3 separate regions of the Homo sapiens genome follow, and all the other regions are linked to region 1. The links are contacts of gene promoters, found by promoter capture Hi-C in blood cells and fetal thymus (Javierre and others, 2016). All regions are on one chromosome and are shown on one strand. Each heading gives the region's core, a stretch centred on a gene start or on the middle of the fragment in contact. The rest is flanking DNA. Distances are from core to core; before and after follow the strand shown.

Region 1 (5,036 bases), core at 403-2,902:
TGCGAGGCCTGGTGCGGGGCACCGGGAGCACTGTGCTCCGTGTGCGCCCTGCGGCCGGAGGGCGCCGAGGGGCTGGCGCGCCGGACCGGTTATTTAGGGAAGTGCATCGCGACACCTTTGCAGATGGCATGGCCGTGTTTTGCAACGCAAACGGGAGGAAGGGAAGACGGCCGGGTGGAGGGGGAGAGCAAAGGAAGGGGTAAACCAGGTTGGGATGGGAATAAAGCAAACTCCTGAGCAGGGAGCGAGAAGGAAGGAGTGCGTGTCATCGTTGGGAGGAGGCTCCTACCCGGTCTCCCCGCCTCCCGCCCTCGCCACCCCCCTATTCCCTCCCCACCGCAGCCCTTCCCCTTCCCGGGCGAACCACACCGCCGCTGCCCGGTGGTGCGCGGGTCCTGTTTGTGACAGTCAGGCAGACAGGATTATCCGGATCATGGCCTCCCGGGCCCGCAGCCGCCGCCGTGGCTCTCCTGGGTCCCGGCGCGCCCCTAGCACCCGGACGATCGCAGGCGCCCCACGCCCGCAGCTCCCGCGGCGCAAGCAAGGGGAAGACGCGAAGCAAAAGAACACGGACCCGGGGAGAGGGAGGGCAGGGTAACGGAGGCTGGCGGGCACCTCCGACCTCCTTGGGGGCCTCCTCCCTTCCCTCCAGCAGTGCGGCCCGGGCCGGACATCCCGAACTTTAACACCCGAGCCTGCGCTGCCGCCAGGTACCAGAGGCAGGGACGTCCGCAGCGCCCGGGGCGCAGCCCCCTGGCAGCCCCTTTGCCTAAAGGCCTGCCTACCAATCAGCCTCCCCATCCACGCCGGAGGAAACGCGGAAAGTGGAGGTGACACCTCCGATCAGGCACGCACCGGCCCCGCGGCAGTGGCCGCTACCTCCTTCGCGCGTCAGCTCAGGCTTCTCCCGCTGCGATCCGCTCACGTCTCCGCAGCCGGAGCCCTTTGAACAAGTCCCTGGGAAGCGGGTGGCAACAGCGTCCGTTGGCGCCCCGCCGCCAGCCTGGGCTCCCCGCCCTCCTTTCCCGTTCCCCTTCCAACTCTTCCGGGGAGGGTTGCCCGGGATGAACAGTAGCGTTTCCATCCTCCTCCCCTGTCCCCCAGGCCTTCCCCCTCCTGCGGCCACCCCCCTCCCCGCCGCCTCACTTTTAAGGGGATGGGGGGATTGCAACCTGGCCCAATGTGTGTGTTGCAACCTTGAGTTGGCAGCGCCTCTGACTGCCCACTCAGGATCAAGGCTGTGGCTTGTTGGGATTTTTTTCCTCCTTTGCCCCCTTGAAGTAGTAATTATTACTGTTATTATTAGAACAGCAAGGTTCGGTTGAAACTTTCTCGTTTCTTCCACCGCCGCCTGGGAGCTGTCGTTAGAGCATTCCACCTGAGGCCCGCGGGGAGGAGGCGGGCTTTTTTTTGTCGCGGCGGTTGGCCCGCCTGTTTGTTTTGGTCTCCTTGCATGCACAATAAATAATAATTAGGATAATAATGGATAATCCCGGGCGAAGGCGGCGTGGTGCCGGAGGGGTCTGAGCGGCGGCTGCAGCGGGGCGGCCGAAGGGAGGGGAAAGAGGAGAAAAGAGTTGTAAGTTATATTTACCTTGCTCGCGAGGAGTGTGCTGGCTGAATCTCTTCCCTCTCTGAGTCACCCAGAGTACAGAAACAGAGGGAGAGAGGACTAGATTATGAATATGACTTCATTGATGACAGCCGTCCCCTCCTCTTCCTAAACTCGGGCTCCGCCCAGCGTCCCACCCTCGCCTCCTCCGCGGGCGCCGGAAGACGCGCCGCAGTTGGCCCCGCGCGCCGCTCCTCCCTGCCCGTCCGGGCGCGGGTTGGCGGGACGCGCCTGTCACTCGCTCAGCTCAGCGACTCCGGGAGCGCGGGGGGAGGAGGGGGCGGTGTGCAAGAATGTGGATCTAGACAGCTCTACTGTATGCGTGGATCCGTGTGTGACTGCAAGGCGCCGGCTCTCGGGCCGCGTTTGTGCCTGGAGCAGAGAAACTGCGCGGGATGCAGAAAGCCCCAAGCCCTGCTGGAGCTGGGCGCCCGCTGTCCCTTCCCTGGCAGTCCTCTTCCTCGGGCGCCGCGGGGCTCCTCCAGGGAGACTGCGGAAGGGGAGGAGGCGAAGCGAAAACGGAGGGCAGCCGTAGTAATAGCGCGTAGTAGTTCGGGGGTATGTGGAGAAGGTGCTGGAATTTAACTGTGCCTCCGCCTGCCAGTGCGAGCCTGCAGAGAGAGAGGGAGGGGACGGGGGACGGGCTCCGAGTGGCACCAAAGCTGTTTGTGGCACAGTGTGGACTGTGGAAAAAACGGGCATTGTCGTGCCGGCTGAAACTTTTTCTCCCCCTTCCCTAAGGCTGTCATTATAAATCTGCCCCCTATTCCAGGTAAAAAAATAAAAAATAGAAAAGGGAGGCGGGCACAAAGAACGTTCCTGCCAAATCTGTCTCTTCCCTGAAGGACTGCAAGCTTCCAAATGCCAACGAGGGAGAAACAGCTGAGAGGCTGAACGCCTTATAAATAAGTAAACCCACCCTAACCTCTCTGTTTACTTCGTGGACTAGGTACAGCACTATAACCTTCCCTCACCTGCCATCTTCGCTAAAATATATACAAAAATATGGAAAAACAAACCCTGGGGGCGGGGCTGGCGGGTTAGGGGGCGGCTGAAGCATGGAATCTGGTTTTGATTTAAAAAGGGGAATAAATCTCTTATTTTCTACAGACCGTAGTCTCTTCCCTCTCACCCCGCATTTGAGACCAATTAAGGCTGCAAATTGTAATTTGCTGGCAAGTCGCGGTTTTGAGACCTCTTTGCTCCAATTTTCCTTGAAATACAGTACTTTGGCCGGACCAATAGGTCGGTGTTTGGTGAGACAATTTTATTTTTAGTTTTATGAAGTGTGAAAGAATGTTAGGAGACTTTAAATCAGGGGCCTATTATTTTAGACTCAGATTAATGTAGATGCTTGACTCTTAAAACTGTTCCTATGCAGTAGTGTTATGAAAAGTATGATTTATCCCTTATTTCGTAATGTAATGGCTTAAATTAGTCATTCAAAGTGCACTGTGACTATCTGGTTGAGGATTCTTCCCCCTAGAGTAAAATCCTATTTTAAGACCATTTTACTGTTGCAAAATTGACTCCATTTGAGCAACTGGGTCTGAAATGCAGTTCTAGGATGCTTAAAACTTCAGGCTGGATAAGTTGAAGACAAGAAGTAATGGAAAGAACGCCAAATACTGCCATGTAGTCATTAAGAAGCAAGAATTCTTTATATCACTGGTCCACTGCTGGCTGAAGCAGAGCCCACTAGGGCAGCATTTTCATGATGGCTGGGAGTGTTGGTGATCACCCACCCTATAGCTTTCTAAGGTCTTGCTACTTGCTTGTTAACTTTAGCTTCATCATTTTCTGTCTATCTTGAAGTGAACCTCAAGACAACGAAAGATAACACAGCTAAGAGAAATAGAATATAGTGTGCCCTGAAGGATCCATTGTAAGAACTTGTTTTTCTGCCTGAGGATATGCCGGTATAACTATTAACTGAGAAATATATAGGGAGAAATTTTAAACAAGACTAGTAGTATAGTAAAAGTGTAACATAAATACTAACTTCTAACTGCCTAATAAGTCGCAACTAATAATATAGCCAGATAACCTACCTGTCTCTAATAAAGAGATTTAACCTAATAGCAATGCTTATTACATTGAGAGTATTAGGTTTTAATTTTTTTGGGGTCTAATTTGTTTCTCTGGCATGCCGGCCTCACATGCCAATTTTCAGAAATTGATAACTTCACTTTTATTCCCTTGTGAATAAATGCCCTTTATCCCCTTAAGATTCTACTTCCACTTGCCATGCAAATCCTCAAAAAAACAAAAACAAAAACAAATCAATTAGTAAGTCCCTGGAGAAAGAAACTGTCCATTCCTTCTGGCATTTTGTCACAGGGAAAGTAAAGAAGAAAACATTCCCTTTGTTATATGTGTATATTCTTCAGCTCATATAAAATTTTGATGTTGTCCTTGGAGGCGTTGGTATCCACGCATTGTATACACACAGCTATGGGAATTAAAATACATCGTTGGGAACAGAGATTAAATATAGATATTGCATCTCCCTCTCCCTTCGCATTGGTCTAAGAAAGCACCACCTTCCCCCATCACCCTTCAAGTTGTTCCTCTAAAAATTCGTCTTGTTTGTAGTTTGTACCCTAGCAGTTACGAATTTTATAAAATAAGGCCTCAACACAGGAGAAATGAAAAGGCAGCGTCATTCACTTGGTACAAAAAGAAGATTGTAGAACATATAGCATGAGTTTCACCTCTGAGGTAAAACGAAATTTAACAATTGAAGTTAAGGAGGAAAATGATGGGTTTTTTTTGTTTTGTTTTGCAGAAAATCATACAAAAGCAAATGTGGTTGGAGGGTAAAAGGACTCCAGGAGGCTGCACAGGGTGCTACGTTCACACGCAGCTTTTCTTTTTGGACTTTGATGAGTCATAATGTGTTCTCTGAACTTGCTTTTCTCTTTCTAGTTTGGTATCAAAAGATAGAAGTCACTTTTTCATGTCTGTATGGCCACATTCACTTGTTATGTAAGTCTGCTTTGGTTACATTCTGTATAGAGTAGATACTGGGTTTAAAACTTGGTATCTGGATACAACACCCTCATAAAGAAAAATTCCATGCACAACGTTAGGAAGCTTCTAGTCCCAACAGACAAACTGTTAATGCTGCCTGAAATGTTGCCTAGCTTCAAACACGAGCAGGTAAGACCGTTTAGGCAGTGAGTATTTCATCTTCAGTAATGGAAACCAAGATTTGACAAATTGAATCAGCTGACATTTAATTTAAAGAATAGTTTAGAATTAACAAGTAAATTTATTACAGAAATAAACACTCCTCTCTCTCCTTTTTTCTTTTTTTCCTTTTTGAGTCAGAGTCTCGCTCTATTGCCCAGGCTGGAGTGCAGTGGCGGGATCTTGGCTCACTGCAACCGCCGCCTCCCAGGTTCAAGGGATTCTCGAACCT
Region 2 (5,027 bases), core at 850-3,349, 2.7 Mb before region 1:
AATCAGTTTGCAAAAAAAATTTTTTTTTTTGAGACAAGAGTTTCGCTCTTGTTGCCCAGGCTGGAATGCAATGGTGTGATCTCGGCTCACTGTAACCTTTGCCTCCAACAATTCTCCTGCCTCAGCCTCCCGAGTAGCTGGGATCACAGGCATGCGCCACCACACCAGGCTGATTTTGTATTTTTGGTAGAGACAGGGTTTCTCCATGTTGGTCAGGCTGGTCTCGAACTCTGGTGGGCAGTGCAGTAGGTGGGAAAATATACTGGACTAGGAGTCATAAGTGGGTTCTAGTTTTAACCTGGCCACTAACTAGTTACATGGCCTCAGGGAAAACACTTTTAATGAGAGAGATAAGCTTACTCACTTCTAAAATCTCTTCCAGCTAAACAAATTTAGAAGTGCACAAGTAAGAAATTAACATACAGATATTTCTCTAGATTACTTCTGTAATTCAACCACAATGCACTGAAATTCTTGACACCCTTTTTTCTCTTCATATGCCTTCAAAATTGACAATGGCATCTGCTGTTCATTCTTCTTTCCTCCCTAGCACATCATGTGCTTATAATACATTTTGTATATAAAGATGACACTAGTGATCCAAAATTAGTGGGTGACTAATGATGGACCCATCAACTCTCATTCTGTCCTCCTAAAAAATGTCTTGTAGTTCCCCAGTGACTTAGCTGGCCAAAGTACAGACAGTGGTTATGAAACAGCATTTTTCTCTGTGTGAAGCCAACTAACCCTGTTAGCTGGACATAAGATTGATAATGTCACGCTTACTGGTAAGCAATTTAACTCATTCTCATTAACATCTAGCAAAATAAGTTGAGAGGAAAACTACTATTAAATCTGTTACACTCTTGGGAACCCCATTTTGCAAGAAGGCGGCAGACACTTATGATCCATTGAATATATTAGTGTTTAGTCTGTGATTCTGAAATATACTTCCAAAACACACACGGATTCGGAGAAAAAAACAGGACAAGGTGATGCGAGTATGTAAGTATCCCCTAAGATAGGTCCCTGAAAAATCCTTAATAGTATATCACATTTGGATACGTTTCAGTCGCAGGAAGGCAGGAATGCTGGATTGAAAACACAATACCAGGAACCTAAGAGAAGTCTGAAGGAAAACACAAGTATATGCGTATATATTTTCACTGGAGAATGACGTGAAGCAAAACTAAAAAACAAAACAGTAAGGCAAAGATGGTCACGCGAATGGGAGAGGTGTACGCCAGCGTCAAAAGCGAGATTTAAAGAATTTACTCAGTTGTCAACATCGGTGAAAATCGCATGTGAAATCTTTGTCAGGACTCAGTGTGATGCTGAACTACAATCATTCACTGTTCCTAGCAACTGTGCACAAGTATGCTAGAGCCTTTAACAGAATAAAGTGCTTGGGGAAAACCTCTCACAAGAGGACAAAGGGTCAATGTTACAGCATGAGCCGCCCCAAATCTGAGTGCTGTCAGGAAGGGGAGATGGAGGAAGGTATTCCAAGAGTGAACAGGAATCAGCCAAGGCGAAAGAAAACATGTGCGTGGAGGTGGAGGTTGGTAATATATGGCCACCCCGTCTGCCCTCCGAAGATGCCATAAAAGGGGTGGGATGGCATCAGGCGTCAGGTCCCAGGTCCCCGGCCCCTGGCAGTGAGGTGGGCGTAGAAAAAGGCGTAGAAGAGGGTCTGGGAGACGCGGCATTCCAGGGGTTTGGCGACAGCACCACTCCATCCCTCCGCAGAACGCAGGCCCCTTCTCACCTGGGCGCCGCCGCCTGGCAGCTGCGGGCAGCGGGGAGAACTGGGGAACACGTCGAAGTCACTCTCTTCCTCAGCCTCACCCTCGGCCCGAGGGAGGCTCCAGGGTCCCGGAGGCGGCCACGGTTGTTCCATGTCCGGCTGCTCCGGGTCCTACAACCGCCCTTGGCCCTACAACTGCCACTGCCAACAGACTTGGCGTGAATGGAACCTGCTGCGCCGAGCCAGAAGCCCAGCCGGGGGTCCGGGCCGTTACCCAGAATCCCTCTACTGGCCGCGACGCCGCTGCACACCCGGCGACAGCCTGGGCCTCGCCACCGGCGGACGGCGGAAGAAATAGTCGGCGCGGTGCGTCACTTCCGGTTGGGGCGGGGCTGTGGAGGCGCGTCCCGGGCCCTTTGCGTGTAGTGGGTGGATCTGCAATTGTATTCCTGTTTCAAGCCCCGTTTTCTTGCAGCTCTTCGGCACTGCAAACCTAACCGCTAATGGCGCTGTGGGTGGAGAAACGTTTGTTAGGTAGCGTTATATATTGTTATCTGGTGTTCCCTATACCGAAAACGGCGGGTCCTGGCCGCCGGGAGGTACTCAGACCAGGTGTGCACTTTACATGTTGCTTAAAAATTGCAACTCATTCCTTTACATTGACATTTAAACCAGTGATTCTAAGGCAGAGTTGGGGCGGAGGGAGGAGAATTTTGAACAAGCGGAGCCAATTTTCGTCTCATTTCTAATTACAGGCAACAACAGAATTCTGCGAAACTTGGTTGGTTGGAGGAGCACACCAAAAATAAAGTACCGGAGCCGGCACGGCTTCAAAAAAATTAGGATCAGTACCGCTAGTAGCGAACGCATAAGAAGGGCTTCCTGTATGCCTGCGTATCTTGTTTAAGCCTAAAGATATGTACTCTCTTTATCCTCTTTTTTTGAGACGAGGAAGTAGACCCAGCATGCCCGAGATCACACATTTTACAAGGAAGAAGTAGGATCCAGACCCAGGGAGTTTAACTTCAAAACTTGAACGTTTAACAATCAGGTCTTGCTGCCCTACTCATAAAGAGACCCAAATAAAAACAACATGACGCCATTTTTTTCCATGTGTTTAGACTGGCAAACTTGTGAAGTCGCTTAATACCAAATGTGTACCAAGATGTAAGGAAATGATGTGAGAATGTCATTAGTATAACCTTTTAGGAGGAGTAATTTGACAATATGAGAGGCTTGAGCGGATTGATTCAGCAATTTCACCACTAAGAAAGTATGCAACAATTATTTTTGCACCAATATCCAAAGATTTACTACAAAGATTTCTGGCAGCAATTTTTGTGTGTGTGTGGCAAGAAAAAAAAAAGCATTCTAATTGTCCATCGATAGAGGAACTTAAAGTATGGAATATTAATACAATGGCATATTACCCTTTTTAAAAAAAGTAAATTGTATCTGAATATGCTGATATATAAATACCTCCAAAAGGTATTGAGTTTTAAACAAAGCAACTTGCAGAATTAAACATATGCGTACGTATACAGAGAGAGAAGAGAGAGGGATGGTATTTGTTTGCGTCCGTGTGTGTGTGTGTGTGTGTGTGTGTGTGTGTGTGTGTTTGCGCAGAACATTCCTGGAGGATATGCAAGAAACTGTTAATGATTACCTCTGGTGGGTGAGCCTAGGAAGGAAAGCTTCTGAGGATCTTTACTTTCCACATTTAGCTTCCCTGTACTGTGCTGTTTGAATATTTTTCCAATGAATGTATACTATAATTATAGTATTATAACAGTACAAGATTATAACAGTACAAGATTACTATAAAATTAATTACAAATAAAAGCTGAGAATCACTTTTGCACCTAAACCTTTTGAATTTAGGGGTGAAAGTCACAGGAGAGACTGGAAAGGGAGGAAGAAAAGAAAAACATTTTTCTCTTTGCTTCCATGAAGCCACAAAGTGCTTTGAATAGTGCCTGGCATAAAGTAAGCCCTATATAAACGCTAATGCTGTTAGTTTTTCTCCTACCTCTTTCACTACTTCTCCTCAGTCTTCTTCCCTTCTAGCTGACCTCTAACTTTAGAGTTCCTCATATTTTGGCCAGTGAGGAGAATCCTGTTTATTCCTGTGGCTTTAAATAACATCTGTGTATCTATAATTCTCAAATTGAAATCCAAGTCCTGACCTTACCCCTGTGCTCCAGACTCATGTCTACCCGCTGATTTGTCATCTCATTTTAATGGTTCATACACATCTTAAATTTAACACATCCAAACCCTTGATCTCACCGCCTTCCCCAAACTTCTTTGGGTCTTCTCCGTGTCAATCAATGGCATCACCATCCAGTCCAAAACCTAGAGTTCAGCCTTAGTTCCTCCCTCTCCTTTACCTCTCATACCAACAGCAAGTCCTACTGTTTTTACCCCCAAATACATCTTGAATCTATGTTCTTTCCTGCTTTACTGCATACTCCCTAGGCCAGAACACTATGATTGCTTCTCAGAACTACTGCAGTAGTCTTCCATGCTTCTGTTCCATTCTTGCTCCTTACAATCTCTTCATACTGTTGCCAGAGAGATTTTTAAAAAATACATAAATCATATCATGTCTCACCCCTGCTATATCAATTATATGCTTTCAATGCAAATAACTGAAACCTCAGCTAAAAGAAACCTAAACTATAAGGACATTTATTGTGTATGTAACAAAAAGAATGATCCCAGGATAGGCTTAGCAGTTTGAAGATGTCATTAAATATTCAGGTTCAGGCCAGGCGTGGTAGCCTACACCTGTAATCCCAGCACTTTGTGAGGCCAAGGCGGGTGGATCACTTGAGGCCAGGAGTTCGAGACTAGCCTGGCCAACATGGCAAAACCCCGTCTCTACTGAAAATACAAAAATTAGGCAGACCTGGTGGTGCATGCCTGTAATCCCAGCTACCCGGGAGGTGGAGGTTGCAGTGAGCTGAGATCACAGCATTGTACTCCACCTGGGTGACAGAGCGAGACTGTGTCGCAAAAGAAAGAAAGGAAAGGAAGGGAAAGGAAAAGGAGGGGAGGGGAGGGGAGGGGAAGGGAAGGGAAGGAAAGGAAAAGGAAAGGAAGATTCAGGTTCTTTCAATCCCTATCCCTCCTCCCCAGCATCCTAAATCTGTTTACTTTCATCTTCAGGCTTCTTACATCATGGTTGCAGGATGGCTGCTACAGCTCTGGACATCACATCAAAATATGGCAGAAGCTAAAGCAGGAAGACAGAGAAGGAGGCAAAACAGCTTTATTC
Region 3 (4,441 bases), core at 1,219-3,718, 2.8 Mb before region 1:
GGAGGTTGCAGTGAGCCAAGATCACATCACTGCATTCCAGCCTGGAAGTCAGAGCGAGATTCCATCTCAAAAAAAAAAAAAAAAAATACATCCACACTGGAAAACAGGGCAGCAATATCTTAAAAAACTAAACATGCAACTACCATACAACCCTGCAAGAGCACTCCTGGGCATTTATTCCAGAGAAAGGAAGACTATGTTCACATAAAAAAATAAAAAAACCTGGCTGGGCATGGTGGTGCACACCTGTAATCCCAGCACTTTGGGAGGCTGAGGTGGGTGGATCACCTAAGATCAGGAGTTCGAGACCAGCCTGGCCAACGTGCCGAAACCCCGTCTCTACTAAAAATACAAAAATTATCTGGGCATGGTGGTGGGTGCCTGTAATCCCAGCTACTCGGGAAGCTGAGGTGGGAGAATCGCCTGAACCCGGGAGTGGGAGGGTGCAGTGAGCCAAGATCGTGCCACTGCACTCCAGCCTGGGCAACAGAGCTAGACACCATAAAAAATAAAAATAAAAAAAAAAAGAAAAACCTGTCCACAAATTTTTATAGCAGCCTTATTCGAGATAGCCAAAAACTGGAAACAACCTACATGTTTTTCAACAGGTAAATAAAAAGACTTGTGATCTTTTCATACCATGAAATACTACTCAGCAACAAAAGGGAACAAACTTGATAAAAACATCTTAGATAAATCTCCAGAGAATCATGCTGACTGAAAAAAAGCCAGTCCTTATAGTGACTCTAGATAACCTCAGGCTAATCACACACTCCCATGTGGCAGCAACAACCCATATGAACGTCTGCCATATCAACTTTTGATGATAGTCACCATGCCTACCACGGTGACCATGGGTGACAGGGAATCAGGGTTTGATTCCAGAGTCAGAGTCTGAGAAATGGCTACCACATCCAAGGAAGGTAGCAAGCATGCAAATTACCCACTCCCAACCCAGGGAGGTAGTGACAAAAAATAAAAATACAGGACTCATTCAAGGCCCTTCAAGTTTTTTCTTTTTAAAAATTTTTTTAATTTATAATATAAAATTTAAGAAAACAGAAAAAAGCCAATCCAAAGGTTACATACTATATGATTCCATTTATGGAGCAGTCTTCAAATGACAAAATTACAGAAATTAAAGAACAGATTAGAGACTGACAAGGGTTAAGGAAGAAGTGGGGGAAGGAGGAAACTGAGTGTGGCTACAAAAGAGCAACAGACATGAAGAATCCTTGGAGTGACAGAAATGTTCTGTATCTCACTGTATCAATGTCAATATCCTAGTTCTAACATTGTACCATAGTTTTTCCATATATCACCATTGGGGGAAACTGGATAAAGTACAGACAGGATCTTTCTGCATTATTTATTACAACTGCATGTGAATCTACGATTATCTCAAAATAAAAAGTTTGTTTTCTTAAAAAAGATGGTAGATAGTTCCATCTGAAGTAGCACTTACGGCCAGGCACTGTGGCTCTTGCCTGTAATCTCAGCACTTTGGGACAGTTAGGCAGAAGGCTCACTGGACGCCAGTAGTTTGAGATCACTCTGATCAACATAGTGAGATCCCATCTCTAAGAAAAAGAAGAAAAGAGAAAGAGAGGAAGGAAGGGAGGGAGAAAAAGAGGAAGGAGAGGAAGGGGAGGGAAGGAGAGAAGGAGGGGGAGAGGGATGGGGGAGGGAGAGAGGGGGGAAGGGGGAAAGAAGACAGGGAGGGAGGGAAGGGGAGGGAGAGAGGAAAAGAAAAGAAAAGAAAAGGCAAGGCATTTATACAACAGCTTCCAAACAACACTGTATCTGAAAACTGGTCATTAGGATTCTTGGCATTTGCCTTTAAAAAAAAAAAAAAAAAAAGAAGAAGTCTTATTTTGGGCAGCCAAAAATCATCACTTGGAAGCATACTTTGTCATCAGAGGCACAAAAGGGTATGTTCCTGATTAACAGGACATATTCAATCTACAGTTAGTAGTAAAGTTATCTGTTACGCCCCAAAACCAGTTGTCCATCAAGAATTCTGGGTCCCAAACCAGGCCGAAATAAAATATAGGCACATCCTCCTTTTAAAGGATCCAAGTTAGGAACAGCCAGATTTATTCCCAAAACAATGCACTGGTTTACCAAAACATGTTTTACCTTTCAAAGGACCTCTTTGTGGCATGCTTCCTCAGCACATTTTAAAGGACCCTTTTGATTAAAACTCCACTTAGCTCTTCTTTTTCAGAATCTTATCTGCTTAAGCCATATGGAGCACTCCCCCATGGGACCAAGTAACTCCTCTCAATTTCACAGGGGAAGACACTAAGGCTTAGTTACATGACCTGCTCAGGATCCTGGGTAGTAGCAGTCCTGTCTTCTGACTCCTATGTCACTGCTCTTGTTCAAGTCCATTATTTCTGCTATTCCAACTTTAAACAATTATTCTGGTGGGATTCTCTTCCATTTAGACCTCACATTATACAGAGACTGTTAAACTGAACCCTGCAGGACACAGTCCTCATGAAATCCAGAGATAGAGGCACTTTGGACAGCTGCTTTATAATACTGATGAGGAACACCCAGGTCCATCACGCTGTGAAATGAGAGAGAACAGGTCCTTCAGGCAGGAGCTGGCCACATTCTCTTTCCAGCTCTGTCCCTCACTACACGTTTGTCTTCACCAACTATCTTACCTAACTACGGGTTGGCTTTTTTACCTTGAGTAAAACAGCAGCAACAAGAAAAAATATTTACTTCCTCTTCAATGAAAGGAAGAGTACAATGAGATAAACTTAATTGTTCATGTTCCTCAAAACGGAAGCATAAATTATACATGTGGCTGGACAATTATAATCACCAGCCCGGGACCATCCTTCTTTGGGGTTCAGATTCCTTTCAGTATTTACAACCCCTTTGCAATGGAAGGGGACAGTTTTAAGAGATTCAATGATTTGCCTGAAGTCACAGAGTTTGATCTGTGTCTCATTTGTTTCTAAATCCTTGTGTAGTCTTCTTGGTGTCACATGCTGCTATTCCTAATCATTAGGGATACAGGGAAAAGAAAAGGTTTAATTACTACTGTCAAGTAGGCCAGGGTTTTTCTACATCAGCACTACTGACATTTTGAATGGATAATTCTTTGTTGTGGGAGGCTGTCCTGTAGGATATTTAGCAGCACCCTTGGATTCTAACCACTAGAGGCCAGTAGCATTCCCCTCTGCCAAGCTGTGACAACCAAAAATGTCTCCAAATGCTCCCAAATGTCCCCCACTGAACAAAAGTGCCCCTGGTTGAAAACTACTGTGCTTTACATATAACATAGAAATACGTGGAAACAACCACCTAGGAGAAGAACTTTACAGAAGGCATAATTCTCTTCAAATATCTGAAAAATTTCCATATAGAAGCAGGAACGGATTTGGCATGCCAGGGAGCAGACCTATACCCAGTGGGTTCAAGCTACATAATAATAAAATCAGCTAACATTTATTCTTCCTATGTGCCAGGCACTGTTCAGTACACTTTGAAGTATTATTTCATTTAGTCCTCACAATAACCCTGTGAAGTCAGTAGTACTGGCCCCACTTTACAGGTGAAAAAGTTGAGGCTCAGAAGAGAATAGTTAAAATAATTTGCCCAAGGACCAAGAGCTAATAGCGAAAGGCAGAACTCGTACTCAAACCAAGGTCCAATACTGACCCCAAGCTCTTAATTGCCAAGTATTATGACCATGACAAATTAAGGATTTTACCTCAGTAAAATAAAGAAAATAAAGAACTTTTTGACTTAAAAACTGTTTCTTTCATATGGAGATTTCTCAAAGAACTAAAAATAGAACTACCATATGGCCCAGCAATTCCACTACTGGGTATCTACCCAGAGGAAAAGACATCATTATACAAAAAAGGCACCTGTACTTGTATGTTTATTGCAGCACTATTCACAATACCAAAGTGATGGAACTAACCTAAGTGTCCACCAATGGTTGACTAGATAAAGAAAATGTGGTATATATACACTATGGAATACTACACAGCCATAAAAAAGAATGAAATCAGGCTGGGCATGGTTATTCATGCCTGTAATCCCAGCAATTTGGAAGGCTGAGGCAGGACGACTGCTTGAGTCCAGGAGTTCAAGACCAGCCTCGGCAACATAGACAACACCCCATCTCTACAAAAAAAATTTTAAAAATCAACTAGATGCTGTGGTACACATCTGTAGTTCCAGCTACTCAGGAAGCTAACGTGAGAGGATCACCTGAGCCCAAGAGGTTGAGGCTACAGTGAGCCATGATCACACCACTGCACTCATGACAGAGTGAGACTCTGTCTCAAAAAAAAGAATGAAATAATGTCCTTTGCAACAACATGGAGCTAGAGGCCATTATCCTAAGAGAACTAATTCAGAAACAGAAAATCAAATACTCCATGTTCTTACTTATAAGTGGGAGCTGAAC

What was found. The method cuts DNA at HindIII sites, captures the fragments that hold promoters and counts their contacts. A CHiCAGO score of 5 or more calls a contact.
Region 2: a contact is called between the fragment with the promoter of CDC37L1 here and the fragment with the promoter of SMARCA2 in region 1, in 2 of 17 cell types (fetal thymus and non-activated CD4 T cells). The highest score is 7.9, in fetal thymus.
Region 3: a fragment that was not itself captured here is called in contact with the fragment with the promoter of SMARCA2 in region 1 in 1 of 17 cell types (neutrophils); the score reaches 6.2 in neutrophils.

The regions. Positions count from the first base shown.
Region 1 is chr9:2,011,963-2,016,998 of GRCh38, reverse strand. SMARCA2 (SWI/SNF related BAF chromatin remodeling complex subunit ATPase 2) reads right to left here and starts at 1,652. Exons shown (of 34, transcript NM_003070.5): 1 at 1,595-1,652. RefSeq lists silencers at 293-462, 1,603-1,942 and enhancers at 650-1,206, 1,993-2,042, 2,103-2,152, 4,363-4,492. The HindIII fragment of the contact is 4,329 bases long and covers 1-2,468 here.
Region 2 is chr9:4,676,641-4,681,667 of GRCh38, reverse strand. CDC37L1 (cell division cycle 37 like 1, HSP90 cochaperone) reads right to left here and starts at 2,099. Exons shown (of 7, transcript NM_017913.4): 1 at 1,769-2,099. The coding sequence starts at 1,900. It overlaps CDC37L1-DT (CDC37L1 divergent transcript), which reads left to right and starts at 2,188. Exons shown (of 2, transcript NR_121598.1): 1 at 2,188-2,281; 2 at 4,919-5,027. RefSeq lists an enhancer at 1,876-1,965. The HindIII fragment of the contact is 3,086 bases long and covers 358-3,443 here.
Region 3 is chr9:4,796,298-4,800,738 of GRCh38, reverse strand. The region is part of intron 1 of RCL1 (RNA terminal phosphate cyclase like 1); the gene reads right to left. Among named protein-coding and RNA genes, the nearest start is that of RCL1, 5.6 kb to the right of the region's middle. RefSeq lists enhancers at 2,372-2,421, 2,156-2,450. The HindIII fragment of the contact is 8,229 bases long and covers 1-4,441 here.